Regions from separate parts of the Homo sapiens genome. Here regions 2, 3 and 4 are each linked to region 1. Evidence: promoter capture Hi-C in 16 types of primary human blood cells and fetal thymus (Javierre and others, 2016). All regions are on one chromosome and are shown on one strand. The core of a region is centred on a gene start or on the middle of the fragment in contact, and the rest is flanking DNA. Distances in the headings are between cores, read along the strand shown.

What was found. The method cuts DNA at HindIII sites, captures the fragments that hold promoters and counts their contacts. A CHiCAGO score of 5 or more calls a contact.
Region 2: a fragment that was not itself captured here is called in contact with the fragment with the promoter of GRID1 in region 1 in 7 of 17 cell types (non-activated CD4 T cells, naive CD8 T cells, naive CD4 T cells and 4 more); the score reaches 14.0 in non-activated CD4 T cells.
Region 3: a contact is called between a fragment that was not itself captured here and the fragment with the promoter of GRID1 in region 1, in 11 of 17 cell types (naive B cells, activated CD4 T cells, M2 macrophages and 8 more). The highest score is 15.6, in naive B cells.
Region 4: a contact is called between a fragment that was not itself captured here and the fragment with the promoter of GRID1 in region 1, in 4 of 17 cell types (total B cells, naive CD4 T cells, naive B cells and 1 more). The highest score is 8.7, in total B cells.

The regions. Positions count from the first base shown.
Region 1 is chr10:86,365,041-86,368,573 of GRCh38, forward strand. GRID1 (glutamate ionotropic receptor delta type subunit 1) reads right to left here and starts at 1,755. Exons shown (of 16, transcript NM_017551.3): 1 at 1,274-1,755. The coding sequence starts at 1,352. RefSeq lists silencers at 1,064-1,213, 1,244-1,443, 1,674-1,723, 1,744-2,133, 2,244-2,453. The HindIII fragment of the contact is 11,562 bases long and covers 1-3,533 here.
Region 2 is chr10:84,252,731-84,256,263 of GRCh38, forward strand. RGR (retinal G protein coupled receptor) reads left to right here. Exons shown (of 7, transcript NM_001012720.2): 4 at 127-280; 5 at 1,596-1,713. Among named protein-coding and RNA genes, the nearest start is that of RGR, 9.4 kb to the left of the region's middle. The HindIII fragment of the contact is 272 bases long and covers 1,841-2,112 here.
Region 3 is chr10:84,271,873-84,275,405 of GRCh38, forward strand. No RefSeq gene overlaps it. Among named protein-coding and RNA genes, the nearest start is that of LINC00858, 6.3 kb to the right of the region's middle. The HindIII fragment of the contact is 1,963 bases long and covers 680-2,642 here.
Region 4 is chr10:84,358,068-84,361,600 of GRCh38, forward strand. All of the region lies in intron 1 of CCSER2 (coiled-coil serine rich protein 2), which reads left to right. Among named protein-coding and RNA genes, the nearest start is that of CCSER2, 31 kb to the left of the region's middle. The HindIII fragment of the contact is 1,576 bases long and covers 868-2,443 here.

The sequences.
Region 1 (3,533 bases), core at 505-3,004:
GAGCTAGGCCCAGTGATCCCTCGAGCTGGGGGCTGGGTAGGAGGAGGGAGGCCCGGATTCCTCACTACACCCGGAGCCGGCGCCGCAATGCTGACCGCGAGACCCGCACCCCTCCAGGGCGGGAAGCAGGTTTGGTCACGGGCCCCTGAGGAGGAATCGTAGCTCTCCGAGCCCAGGCCTAGTCCTCACCACCCCACTCCACCACCCACCCTCCCGCCTTGTCCCGTCCTCCTCGCCTTCAACACCTCCCAACCCCCAGTTTCCCTGTGCTCGCTGGTCTTTCCCAACTTCCGGAAAGACGACTGCGGAGGGACTCCCCCAAAGCGACCGCTGTCAGCCCCCCAACTCGGCCCAACTTCCCGAGATTCCTCCCGTGTTGCTCCCAACTCCCACCCACTCCCCCTCGGCGCGCCCACTCCCCCTCGGCGCGCCCCCTCCTCCTCTGCGCTTTCATCTTCTCTCCCGGTTCTCTCTCTCTATCCATCTCTTCCCGCTCAGCATCCCCCTACCCCCCGCTGCCCACGCTTCTTCCCTCGGCTCCCACCACCCAGACCGTCTGGGCCCCCAAGACTTGGACCACGCAAAACTCTAGGACTGTCCAGGATGGGGATGCAGTCGCCACAACCAGATACACACGCACTCACACATACACCAAGGGCTACACAGACACACACCGGAGAAGCAGGCAGACACTGTGTCCACTCTAACAGGCTGACAGACAGTCGTGCACGCACCAACACACGCTCAGATGGCCCCACACACCCCAACACCCTCTCACAGTAACACCGACACCGTGCCAGGCGCACACAGCGACACACGCTGACAACACGCACCCACACACATTCACACACGGTTCCGGTCCGGCCTCTTTGATCTTGCCCTGCCAACTTGGCGAGCCCCCCGCTGTACCTCCCCCTGCCCCCCGCTGCTCTGAGCTGCGCAGAAGGGCCCTCCCGACCCGCCGACGGCCCCGCTAAGGGCGCGGGTCTCGACGCGCGTCCATCCCGGTGTTCCCCGAAGCGTCGGCCCTAAGTGTCGGTAGAGGCCGCGGGGCCCCGCGCGGAGATCGGAGCCCCGGGGAGCGGCAAGCAGCCAGCGGGAGCGCGGCGCGGCCGGTGCACAGCTCCTCCGCCGGGCGGCGCGGCGCGGCCCTTCGGGGGAGCACCGCCCGCCGAGCCCCTCGGCCCAGGGAAACGCCAAGTTTGGACGCCGCGCACCCCCTGCCCCGTTGGGGCCCCCGCCCAGCCTCGGCCCGGCCTCCAGCCGCGCTTACCGATGTGGATGATGGAGTCGGCCCGCACCGACACGCACTGGCATATCCAGGGGAGAAGCCACAGCGTCAGCGCTTCCATGTCCCCCGGGCGCGCGGCTCATCCACCCGGGCCCGGGGCGAGGCCGAGGGCAGCGCGAAGCGGGGAGGCGCTGGTCCCGGTGCAGTCCCGGGCCGCTCCCCGGGAGAGCCGAGCCCGCCCGTGCGTCTTCCCCCGCGCGCCCGCCCCTGCGCCCTGCGCCCGCCCCAGCCCAGCCCAGCCCAGCCCAGCGCGGTCGGGCTCCCGCTCCGGCTCCGGTGGCGGCTGCGGCGGTGCTGGCAGCTTGAGCCCAGGCCGGCGCGGCGGGGGCGGCCCGCGGCTGTGGCAGCGGCGCTTCCCGCGGCTAGAGCGGCTTCGGGGGAGGCTGAGGCGGTGGCGGCGGCGGCCGGGCCGGCGTGGCGGCTCTGGGCTGGCTGTGTGTCTGAGCCCCGGCGAGGAGCGAACTGCGGAGGACGCCCCCTCCCCTCCCCCTCCCCCTCAGCTCCGCTCCCCCTCCCCTCCCTGCCCGCCTCCCTCCCCTCCGCCCGCCTCTCTACCACGTGACTGCGGAGCCTCAGCCTCGCCGCGCGGCTCTCGCCCGCTCGCGGCTCGGAGGGGGCGCCGGGTGCTCCACGCTCCCGGCTCGGGGGACGCTCGGAGACCGGCACAGCGGCGGGGACCGGCCTGGGCTGCGGCGCGCCGAGCTCTGACGGTTCGGGCCTCCTTCTCCGGTTCGCCAGGGGCGGGAGAATGGAGGAGGGCCGGCCGCTAACTGCCCTCGAGGGGCTCCCGAAGCGCCCTGGCGACCTCAGCAGCCGCGCGTCTCGGGTCATGTCCCCGGCCGAAACAGACCGTTCCTCGTGGAGTGGGACCTGGGGAGCAAGAAGAGAGACCGGGGCGGGGCGCCGGGCCAGGCCCCAGGACAGCTGGGGAGCCAGAGGGGGCCGGCCGCCGCAAGCATCTCAGAGTAGAGCCCGGGCCGTGGGCTCGAACCCTGGCTGGCCGCGCGGACCTCGGCGGGCGCCCATCCCCCGCTCCATGGGCAGCGCGCTCAGCCGGGAGTCGGGCAAGAGGCTCGGACTCTGAAGCCCAATTCATGGCCGGAAACCAGCGCAGCCGTGACCGCGGCGCCTGGACGTGAGGAGCCTTCCAAGCGGCCGGCGGGCTCAGACTCCGACCCTGCACGGAGCTTTCATGTGCGAGCCCGGGCGAAGAGCCCGCTCCTCGCGGCCACAGCGGAACAGGGCTCCCTCCGCCTCCGGTGCCTGCCTCGGGCCGGCCACCACCAAAGAGAGCGTTAAGCTGTTGTGGGCTCGTGCCTGAAAGGGACTGGGCTCCATGTGGCACCCCCAAGATTTCGAGGAGACAGCTGAGCTTCCTGGGGTCTGGGACCTGGCAGAGCCTCGTTCAAAAGCTGCTCCTCCAGCAAGCCTGGGAACGTCCCCGGGCCCTGTTGTCCGCGGAGGGGCCCCAGGACTCCCGCCACGCACCAGGGGGAGAGGCTCCCACCACAGCCCTTGCCCAGAGCTCCCAGCGCAGTGGGCGAGGCAGACACCCAACCAAGTCATCTTTTAAATGTTGGGGGGGGCTATGAATGAGCTGTGTATGCTCAGATGCCTGGGCTCTGAACCAGCCTGGGAAGAAGAGCAGGGATGACTTCCTGGAGGAGATGACAGTTGTAAAGACTGAGTGGAGGTTCCCAAGGGAGAAAATAAGGCTTCCAGGCATTGAATAGTGGTGAGCCAAGGCAAAAAGAAAGAAGTGTGTGTCTGTATGTCTGTCTGTCTCTCATGTGGCCAGAGCCAAAGAGTAAGCATTGGTAGATTTCACTTTGGAAAGAAAGATTGGAGAGGATGGGCTGTGCAGAGGGGGCCAGTGGAGGCCCATAGCACTGTGAGGGAACCCTGGGTGGGCCAGCTCAGCTGGGCAGGGACAGCCTGTTGGAGCGGAGAAGCTGGATTGCAGAAGTATCAAGGAATCCCATGAGCCAGCAAGGTGACTTCTAGGTTAAGGAGGCCAGGGGGCAAGAAGAGAGGAGTGGTCATATGTCATACTTGCCCATGGGAGTGGCTGAATGTGGTCCTACACACACACACACACACACACACACACACACACACACTTCTTCCAAAAACCTGTCTTAGGGTCCTTGAGTAGTGAAACCTGACCCACCCCGCATCTCAAAACCCTCTACACCTCTAATTCTTATTCCTGCAAAATTCTACCATTCACTGGCTGAAATGC
Region 2 (3,533 bases), core at 727-3,226, 2.1 Mb before region 1:
CTTTGGGAGACTGAGGCTGGTGGATCACTTGAAGGGACACTCTTCGAGATCAGGAAGTCCATTCTTTCTCACTCTATCAGGCCATCTCCTCCTCACAACCTCCTCTTCTTCCTCTGTCCTGTGCAGGTAGCCAGCTGGCCTGGAACTCAGCCGTCTCTCTGGTGCTCTTCGTGTGGCTGTCTTCTGCCTTCTGGGCAGCTCTGCCCCTTCTGGGTTGGGGTCACTACGACTATGAGCCACTGGGGACATGCTGCACCCTGGACTACTCCAAGGGGGACAGGTGAGGTGGGAGGAGCAGCTTCGAGGCTCCTATCCATGGGAATCTTGGCTTTGAACTCCTATGACAAGGGTGCCCCAGCTGAAAATCCAAATGGGGAAATGTCAACGTTTGCCAGACAATCTCAACTTCTTAATCATGATACCCACCTGCAGGTGGACAGTGGGACTGGAAAAAGCCTGTTCTGAAAACTGGCCAGGTGATGGGAATGCTGTGAAAATTGGGACCCAGAGTTGAACCCAAAAAGAGACATCATACAGGGAGCCATTGGCTTGTGTCAGTGGTAACAGTCACCAAGCCGCACCACCTCTTAGCCATCTTCAGCACAGTCGACCATCATGGCTCTGACCTCATCAATTTCTAGAGGGAGCCACGCCCTTGGTACAATAGATTCAAAGAACATTAAGGTCCTTGCATTGGGAGGGAATGCCCTGAGCATACGCTATGAGGCAATCCCTGGAGAAATAGGACAGAATGCATGAGGGTCCCCACCCTCATGGGGCTCGTGTTCTGGTACTGCCCCATCAGGAGGCTCTAGGGAGACAAGGGCTTAGGGGGATCCTTTAGGAACTGCCTTGAGGAATGGTCACATGGGCTCCAGCCCCTCTTGCTTCCACCAGAGCCAAGTTGCATTCATCTGCTTTACCCATGGTGTTTAATCATGAGGCATCTGCACTGGATGACAGGCTTTCCAGGTGATGCATTCTTGAGAACGCTGGGCCTGGTCCAAGTGTCCCTCCATGGCACTCCCCAGCCAGGGTCCAGTCCTTCCAGCTGCCCCTCCCTGGTGGACGGCTCCAAGGTGACATAGTCTTCCCTTCAGAAAATGGGAATCTGTCTCCCTGGGACTCCCACTATTCCCTTCACCTCCCCATGACCACTACCTGGGAACCCAAGCTCTTCTGTGGTGCCTTCAACCATTTCTTCAGTGACACAGTATCCAGTCTTCTTGTTATCCCGTCTCCTTTTAAAACCTTTGGGCCTAGAATGCTCCTTGAATGTTCCTTTCTCTTGGCCCACTGACATCCCCACCATTGGGTGAACATGTTTCCCAAACTAAAATTTCCCATTCTTCATGCTTGGGGGACAAACAGGAAAGCAGGGCTGAGCACTTGAACAAGAAAGAGGCCTCTTCCTCCTTGTAGCTCCCTGGCTCCTAAAGGGAGTTCACCTGGGACCCGGGAGCAACCACACTGCGAGCTTGTCTGAATGGGGCATTTCCCCACAACCGATCATCTAGGGCAGAGCTGGTGGGTCCTTGAGGGCAGCTGGCCATCCCTGAGAGCTAACCCCAATCCTCCACCCGCTCTCCCTGTAGAAACTTCACCAGCTTCCTCTTCACCATGTCCTTCTTCAACTTCGCCATGCCCCTCTTCATCACGATCACTTCCTACAGTCTCATGGAGCAGAAACTGGGGAAGAGTGGCCATCTCCAGGTAAGGACCCCCTTCCGGAGTGTTATCTGATGGTGCAGCGCAGCTCCAGGCTCTTGGTGTCCCGAACAAAGAATTGGATGTGACACACACAAACAGCAAAACAAATATTCATTGCTTTTGCAGCAAAAGCTTATTCAGCACAGTATTACACTCTCAGAGAGGGGAGGGTGGACCAATCTCTGCGAAGTGAGATCAGCACCAGTTTGGTGTATTTTGGGCTCTTTTATATGTTTATTTTTCTTCTCTTCCCAAGGCTGCCTAATCTCTAGCCAGCATCTGCCTTTTGATTGATAGGTGGGTTGCTTATGTTACTTTGGCCCTTGTGTGCTTGCCTGTCACCTCCATCCCATAATCTTAAGTACATGCATGATATGCAGTCCATATGCATCAGCTTTAATAAGCTTATTATCATACGGGGTCATTTTAAGGATACTTTTTCTCTCTAATGCACATGCGCATCTCTGAGGAGCTGCCCCTGACAGGTTTGGTCCAGACCTAGCTGGCCACAGGAGCTTCTTACTCACTTTTTAATCTTATTTGTGTTTTGGTTGCTCAACTTCTGTTTCTTGTCTTGCTTCTTGCTCACTGCCTCTTCACCTTGCTTCTGCTTCTACTCATTCCGCCCTTTAACCTCCAATTCCCTCTGCTATTCTCCTGCCTCAAGAGCAGCAGTAATTTCTCGTTTCCTCTCAGGGACACCAGGGAATATGAACAATGTGACAGACAGCAACCAGGGGTTTTCTGCGTTTTCAGTGATCAAGAGAAAATCCAGCTTGTGCACAGCATAGGATGTTAGAACTGGAAACCACCCTCCCTTTGCTCAGATCGCCAAGGCCTGGGGAGCAAGGATCAGGACTGCTCAGATTCACCCAGACCCCGTAACTCTGGGGACCAGGGCTCCCTACTGGACACATCCGTGCTGTTCCACTTAACTCTTGCCAAGGATGTGAGGTTTGGCACAAAGTTACAGGCTTTTTAAATGCTACTTTTAAACCGCTTTGAGATGTTTAATTTAATCACAGTCACAGGGTGGTGCCCAAAAGATAAAAATCAACCTATAAGCACATTTGTCCAAGAAATACAATACTTCAAAATAAGCCCTCCTGGCCATTTTTTAGTTTCTGAATTACTATTCCCTTGCCACGGTTTTATTTTAACTTGGTCACCTGGATGACCTCTAGCAAAGGAGTCGTAACAAGCAACAAAGATTAGAACAAATTCAGATCTTAATATTATTTCTTTGCAACCACTCTATGAGGAAAGAGGTTTTCTTTCTTTTTTTTTTTTTTTTTTTTTTTTAGGCCGAGTTTCACTCTTGTTGCCCAGGCTGGAGCGCAATGGTGTGATGTCGGCTCACCGCAACCTCCGCCTCTGGGGTTCAAGCGATTCTCCTGCCTCAGCTTCCCGAGTACCTGGGATTATAGGCATGTGCCACCACACCCACCTAATTTTGTATTTTTGGTAGAGACGGGGTTTCTCCATGTTGGCCAGGCTGGTTTCGAACTCCTGATCTCAGGTGATCCGCCCGCCTCCGCCTCCTAAATTGTTGGGATATAGGCGTGAGCTGCCGTGTCCAGCCTTTTTTTTTTTTCTTTGTTTCTTTTTTTTTTCCTTTCTTTTTTTTTTTTTTTTTTTTTTTTTTTTTGAGACAAGGTCTTACTCTGTTGCCCAGGCTGGAGTGCAGTGGCAATCTCGGCTCACTGCAACCTCCGCCTCTCGGGTTCAAGCGATTCTCCTGCCTCAGCGTCCCTAGTAGCTGGGATTATAGGCACCTGCCACCACGCCTGGCTAATTTTTGTATCTTTTGTATCTGTTGGCCA
Region 3 (3,533 bases), core at 411-2,910, 2.1 Mb before region 1:
TTTATCCATAAGAGGAAATATTATTCAGTCATAAAAATGAAGTATTGATGCATGCTACAATATGAACAAACATTGAAACAAGCCAGACCCAAAAGATCACATGTTGAATTATTTCATTTATACAAACTGTCCAGAATAGGAAAATGTATAGAGACAGCAAGTAAGTTAGTGGTTGCCAGGGGCTGGGAGAACAGGAGTTTGAGAGGTGATTGCTACTAGGTATGAGGCTTATTTTGGGGATATTGAAAACATTCTGAAATTAAATAGTGGTGATGATTTTATAACTTTTTGAATATACTGAAAACCACTAAATTGTACATTTTAAAAGAATGAATTCTATGGTGTATAAATTATATCTTAATAAAAATTAATAATTAATTAATTTAGTGAATTAATGGAAAGTGCAATGGGAACTCAGAAAAGATGAAACTCAAAAGTAGCAGGAGGGATCCAGAAAGGCTTCCCTGAGGAAGTGACACAAGTTCTCCCCTTCTTAACTCTCAAGGCCCTGAAGCATAGTACATGCACAATTATTTTCAAAACTAATGTCTCAGCAGAGTAGAAAGGTCCTACTTCACATCCTGATACTCCTTCCCAGTGCCTTCCTCTCCTCTATACAGGCTTTACGTAATAATCACAAAATCCCCCAGCCCCATCTGTTCACCTGTTTTTCAGTAGAAGCTTCTTCTACACCTAAATACATTTTTAATTGTCATTTTTAAATCAATTTCTAACAGACTTTTTGCAAAAAATTCTCATATTTTCCCCATGTTCAAGTTTGGAGCTGGGTGGGAAAGGTTGCTTATAGGGATGTAAAGGAAGGGGGCTACTAGAGACTGAATGTCAGGGTGTAAAGGGCATTATTCCGTGACTTGTAGCATGGAAGCATGGTGACGAAGCACTATGCTTCAGCATAACACAGCCACAGAAGCAATGCTGGTAAGGATGTCATGTCCCAATGCCAGGATCCATTAGGAGTGTATTGATCTGAATAGGAGACAGAAGACAGAAACAATCCACTGGCAGTGGTGGAAGCCTCCAGGCGGATGGATGAAGGACAGATTTGGAAATGGGCAGTGCTGGGAGGAACGGAATCGTAACTCAAGGTCCTGAAGCAGAGAATGTTCACATTTAGAACAGGAGGTGGCTTCCCCTCTGGATTTCTGGACCTTCATATTGCTGAGGTTTGAGAAAATCATACCCTTTGGGGTATTTTTGAGATGAAGGTAAAGGCACTGATTGAAGGCCATTGGAGCTTAAGTGATAAATGAAAGGGAAGGAATGATATGACATGAGACTAGACAAGAGACAGGATCCAGAACACAGAAACCCTTACAGGCCAGGTTGAGGATTTGGGGCTGACCGGGTGCAGTGACTTGAGCCTGTAATCCCAGCACTTTGGGAGGGCAAGGCAGGAAGATCCCTTGAGCCCAGGAGTTCGAGACTAGCTTGGGAAACACAGCAAGACTCTGTATCTACAAATAAAAAATTTAAAAAATTAGCTGGGCATGGTGGTGCACACCTGTAACCTCAGCACTTTAAGAGGCCAAGGCAGATGGATTGCTTAAGCCCAGGAGTTCGAGGCCGTAGTAAGCTATTATTGTGCCACTGCGCTCCAGCCTGAGTGATAGAGGGAGAGGTTGTCTCAGAAAAAAAAAAAGGATTTGGGGCTTGATAGATGCTCAGTGTAATTGGAGGTATTAAAAGGGTTTAAGCAGGAGCTGATATAATCCAATTTATATTTTGGCATTGTGGTACAAAGAACCATCCATCCATCCAGGTGGAGGGGATGCAGGGAGTCCAGTTGAGGCTATTTATGGACAACCAGGTGAAAGATGGTGATGGTTTGGACAGTAGTGGTGGTAGTGGAAATGGAGAAAAGAGTAACAGAAGGTGACTGGGCTTATGGGGAAAGGGCATGAGTTCTGTCTGGCATTGTTATGGTTGATGTGTCTTTGTGACAGCCAAGTGGAGATTTAGAGAAGGTGATTGAATATGAGAGTTCGCAGCTCAGAGAAGTCTGGGTGGGGATATAGATGTGCAAGTCTTTGCTATGGAGTTGGTAACTGAAGCCAGGTTTCCCAGGAAGAGGTTTTAAATGGAAGAGAGAAAAGAGCCTGACTGAGCCTTGAGGAATCCACTATACTGAATAGCCTGGTGGGGAGGAAGAGTCTGCAAGAGGGACCAGAATGAGTATCCAGAGCACCAGGAAGAAAGCCTGGAGTGAGAGTTTCCCAAAGTATAAGGAAGAGGTTATTTCAAGAAAAAAAGAATGGTCAAGTAAAGTAAGGGTGGATGAATGCCCACTGGATTTGGTGACTTGGTGGCCTTCATTGACCTGAGCAAGAGCTTTCAGTGAGGGGAAGAGAATAGAAGCCAGACTGGAAAGATAAGTGCTTGTTTTGCCAGTCATGGAGGCACACACCTGCAATTCCAGCACTTTGGGCTGAGGCGGGAGGGTCATTGGAGGCCAGGAGTTTGAGACCAGCCTAAGCAACATAGTAAGACACTGCCTCTATTAAAAAAAATTTTTTTTCATAGAAATGAAGTGTTCGTTTTGAGAAATTTTGACTGAGATAGAAGAGAGAAACAAAAAAACACAAGGGAGGGGAGGTCCTGTATGCTTTTGTTTAACAAAGTGAAGCTTGAGCAGGTTTAAATTTTCTTGGGAAAAGTTGATTGAGAAGTAATTGAATATATGGGAAAGATAAGCAATAATTAATGGCATAGGGTTCTGAAAAGAGGAAGGGGGTAGGACCCCAGGCAGCAGGAGAGAAAGGCTGAAGGGGGCAAATTTTGATTTATTTGTGGGATTGGTGTTAGAAATTTGAGGAAATTCCCGTTCAATGACTTCAATTTTCTTTGAGAAGATGAAAATCTGCTGTTAACAAAGCAGGAAATAAGATTGTCAGAAGGTTGAGAGAATAAGAGCTTAAGATAATAGTTGAATTTCACGGAAGAGAATTGCAGATGCCACATAAGCACAAGAAGAGATGTTCAACATCATTTGGCATTAGAGAAATGCAAACTAAAACCACAATGAGAGAACTGCTTCCAGGAAAACGAAATAGAGGAACCCTTCCCTATTCCTCCTGCTAAGTGCCACTAAACACCCTCGACGTTTTATGTATAAAACAAACACAGGCGACTGAAAGACGCAGAGAAGGAAAAGCTGCCTAGAGATCTCAAGATGGAAGAATGACACAGTGGCGAGTTCTCTGGGTTTTCTTTTTGCCTCATTTATCCCACATTTGAAACTAAAGAAGAAGCCAGTAGCTCAGTCAAGATAATTAGTGCAGCAAAAAAAAAAAAAAAAAATACAGCCCCAATAAAGGCCTGATGTGTTTAGCCAAATAAATGGGAAAAGGGCAGCCTTTAGGCATAGCTGTCCCACTCCAGCAAAATTCCATGGAAAAGACCATGGCCCCCATCCCCACCAGCCCAGCAAAGGTTGAATGGGGAGCCTAGACTTCTACTCTGTCAGAGCTGTAAAAAGGCAACAAAGACCCCTTTTGAGATGGTGTCAGGTAAGT
Region 4 (3,533 bases), core at 406-2,905, 2.0 Mb before region 1:
TGTTTTCCCCTGCCTACAGTGGTTTGGAAGACATAGATAACTATGAAATAGGACATTTTGGGTGAGGTTAGGGTCTAAAGTTAGCATGGAGTTTAAAAATCTTGTATAGTTGCCGTTGAGAAGCCAGATGGTGACTTAAGTTTAACCTGGTTATCTTTTCTTGCAGCTTTGGTTGAGTACCAAAGAGTTGGTCAGTTCAGAGAGTTGGCTTCTGCAAAAAATACCCATTTTCAGATAGTAGTATATCACTGTTGGTAATTTGTTCATACTGTGCCAAGCATGTATAAACTGAGACTTACTGAGAGAGGAGGAGATTCATGTCTTTTCCTATATGTTCACTTTGTAAGTATATTTTTATAGAGTGGAATGATGGGTGGAATCACCTATACCATTAATGTTCCTCTAGCTCTGGAAAGTAATTTTACTTTGTCTAAATTCAAATATATATGTGTTGGGAGGCTGAGATGGGAAGATCACCTGAGCTCAGGAGTTGAGGCTGCAGTGAGCTGTGATAGCACCACTGCATGCTGGCTTGGGTGACAGTGAGACCCTATCTAAATATATATATATGTATATATGTGTATATATATATACATATACATATATGTATATATATATACACACACACACGTGTATATATATATTTATTAATTATACACAGACACGTAATGTGATTGCCTCAACTATTCCCTCCTCCACCATCTCCACTCTTTTCAGGTACAGAAGTTCATTTATTTACAAACAGTTTTAAGTTCTGAAAGGCTGTTCATAAATTCTTTTTGTAAATAATCGCTAACATTTTCCTTTGGTGTCAGGCATTGCTGAGAAACTTTCATTTTGATTGGTTGCCTTGTTCATATGTACAGAAGCTTATGAGTTGAAAGTAGAGGAGTTTCTGTATGTGGGACCTGTGAACCTAGGCATTTACTGTCTCCTGGTCCTAGGACCCTGCTTTGCTTAGTGAAGTTTGCTCTTCAGAAAGATTCCTGTAACCTTCTCCCACTGGAAATGACTCAAGACCAGGAATATCTAATTTTCAGGACATACACTTTTTTGTCCCAACTTTTTTTTTTCTTTTTAAAAAGTGCTTTATGTCCAAAGGATTACTTAATTCCCCTAGGATGAGTTAATTCAGGCATTACTGTATCAATAGTATTTTATACAGTTGTGGAATTGGGAGGGGACTTCATTTATCTCCCCCTGGTGCACCTGCAACTCTGAAGGGTCCATTGTATCTGGGGGAAACAGAATGGAATGTAAAAAATGTTTAGTTGATTTATGTGAGGGTCAGGTCAAGAACAGGTTAAACTAATTACGATAATAGGGGTTAAAATAGAGCAGTGGTTCCACAGTGTTTGTGTGTATCAGAATCACCTGGAAGGCTTTATTAAAACAAGATCTCTGGGCTCTACAGAATTGCTGAGCACTATATCTAAGGTAAGGCCTTAGAAAATCTATTTTTAACAAGTTTCTAGGTGTTATTGATGCTACTGCTGATCAGCCTTGGTCAGGGTAGTTAGAAGTTTATGATTTTGCTAATTCAAGAGTCCTTTGTCTTTTGTAGGAGGAGTTAAATGTAGAGATCCAGGGTTTGGGAGTTCTCTGAATAGGGGTATATAAGTGCTCCTGAGAGAGAATGAAAATGAATGCTAAGAGAAGGAGGATAATGTGGAATGTGCTGAAATTTATTTCCTATCTCTTTCCCTGATGAAAGCATCCTTATTTGGGGTTTACTTTTTTATTTTTATTTTATTTTTTTTTTCTGAGACAGAGTCTCACTCTGTTGTCCAGGCTGGAGTGCAGTCGTGCAATGTCAGCTCACTGCAACTTCCACCTCCCGAGTTCAAGTGATTCTCCTATCTCAGCCTCCCAAGTAGCTGGGATTATAGGCACCTGCCACCACACCCAGCTGATTTTTGTATTTTTAGTAGAGATGGGGTTTCACCATCTTGGCCAGGCTGGTCTGGAACTCCTGACCTCAGGTGATCACCTGTCTCAACCACCTAAAGTGCTGGGATGACAGGTGTGAGCCACTGTGCCTGGCTGGGGTTTACTTTTTTAAATGGAAGTTTTATATGGATGTTTTCAAACATCATGTGTAGAGAAAACAGCATAATTAATCCCTGGTGTTATTTACCACTTACCTTTTAATAGTTTCAGTTTTAACTGTCACACTCCCTTTTTTGAGGGGTGTTTTGATATTTAATGGAGTGTTTCAGATTTTCTTACTTTGTGATTCTATCTTTTTTTCTGTATTTATCAGTTGTGGTTCTTCTATAAAGAAGATTTTCCATCAATTTTTTGGTTACTTTGAAATACAAGAAGAGCAGGATACATGCTTATTTCTTTTATCAATTTGTAGAATAAGTTGTCTTTGCAGTAAGGCTTATTTTTACTATTTATAGGAGTAGAAGCAGTTTGAGGCTTTTAATTTTTTAAGAGAAGCTTTAAAAAATGAAGTATAACTTACATACAATAAAATACATAAATCTTAAATGATGTACTCTTGGTGAATTTTACACCATCCAGATCAAGTTGCCAATGTCTCAGTCAACCCCTTTTCAGTTAGCCCGCTCTTGCAGAGTTAGTCTCTGTCCCAGGGATTTCCAACGTATGAATTCCAGATCGGCAGAATCAACATCACCTGGAAACTTGTTAAAAATACTTTTTCCTAAGGCCTTACCTTTGATATGTTGGTTCAGAAACTCTGGGAGTGGAGTCCAGAGATCTTGTTTTAATGAAGTCTTCCGGGTGATTCTGATACACACAAGCACTGTGGAACCACTGCTGTATTCTAACACATATTATCATAATTACTTTAATCAGTTCTTGACCTTACTCTCACATAAATGGATCAACTGAACATTTCTCCCATTCCATTCTGTTTCCTCCACATGCACTGGATTTTTTTCCTGTGCCCCTGGGTGAGAAGTCTTGCTGCTGCTTCCCCAGCAGTTTAAGGCTTTTGCTTCAGAGGACAGAAGGAGGCAGGGAAGTGAGAGGGTTTGTGTTTGTTCCAGTGCAGGCTTTCATCACCTCCTGCATGCCTGTGCCGTTAAGAGGGGGCTTTCTTATATGTTTCTCTTGAATGCTAGGTTGAGGCCCATGAGGAAGAGCTTGCTGTTGTGCTAGTCCACATTTGGCTTTTAAGCAGACATTAAAATGTTAGCTTATTACTCCTTTTTATGGTGGTCATTTCTGTCTTTTATGCTCAGCCAAAAGTGAAACTGTTAAATGTCCCGTCTCTCCTGGGAGGGGCTTGTCTCCCTTTGGAATTTGGTTGACTTGCTTGCCTTACAATAACAGCTTTCTGATGGGCTTATGAAAGGTTATGATTTTGAAGATTATCTGGCTCTTCCAGGTTTTTAGGTAGGAGTGATATTAATTGCAGCTTTTTACATCGAAAATGGAAATCTGACCTTCATATAAATGGAATCACACTATATTTATCCTCAAGTCTCTGGATTCTCTTGTTTAAAGGATCCTGTTAGTTTTATCTGTATTGTTGCATATAGCAATAATTAGGTCTTCAT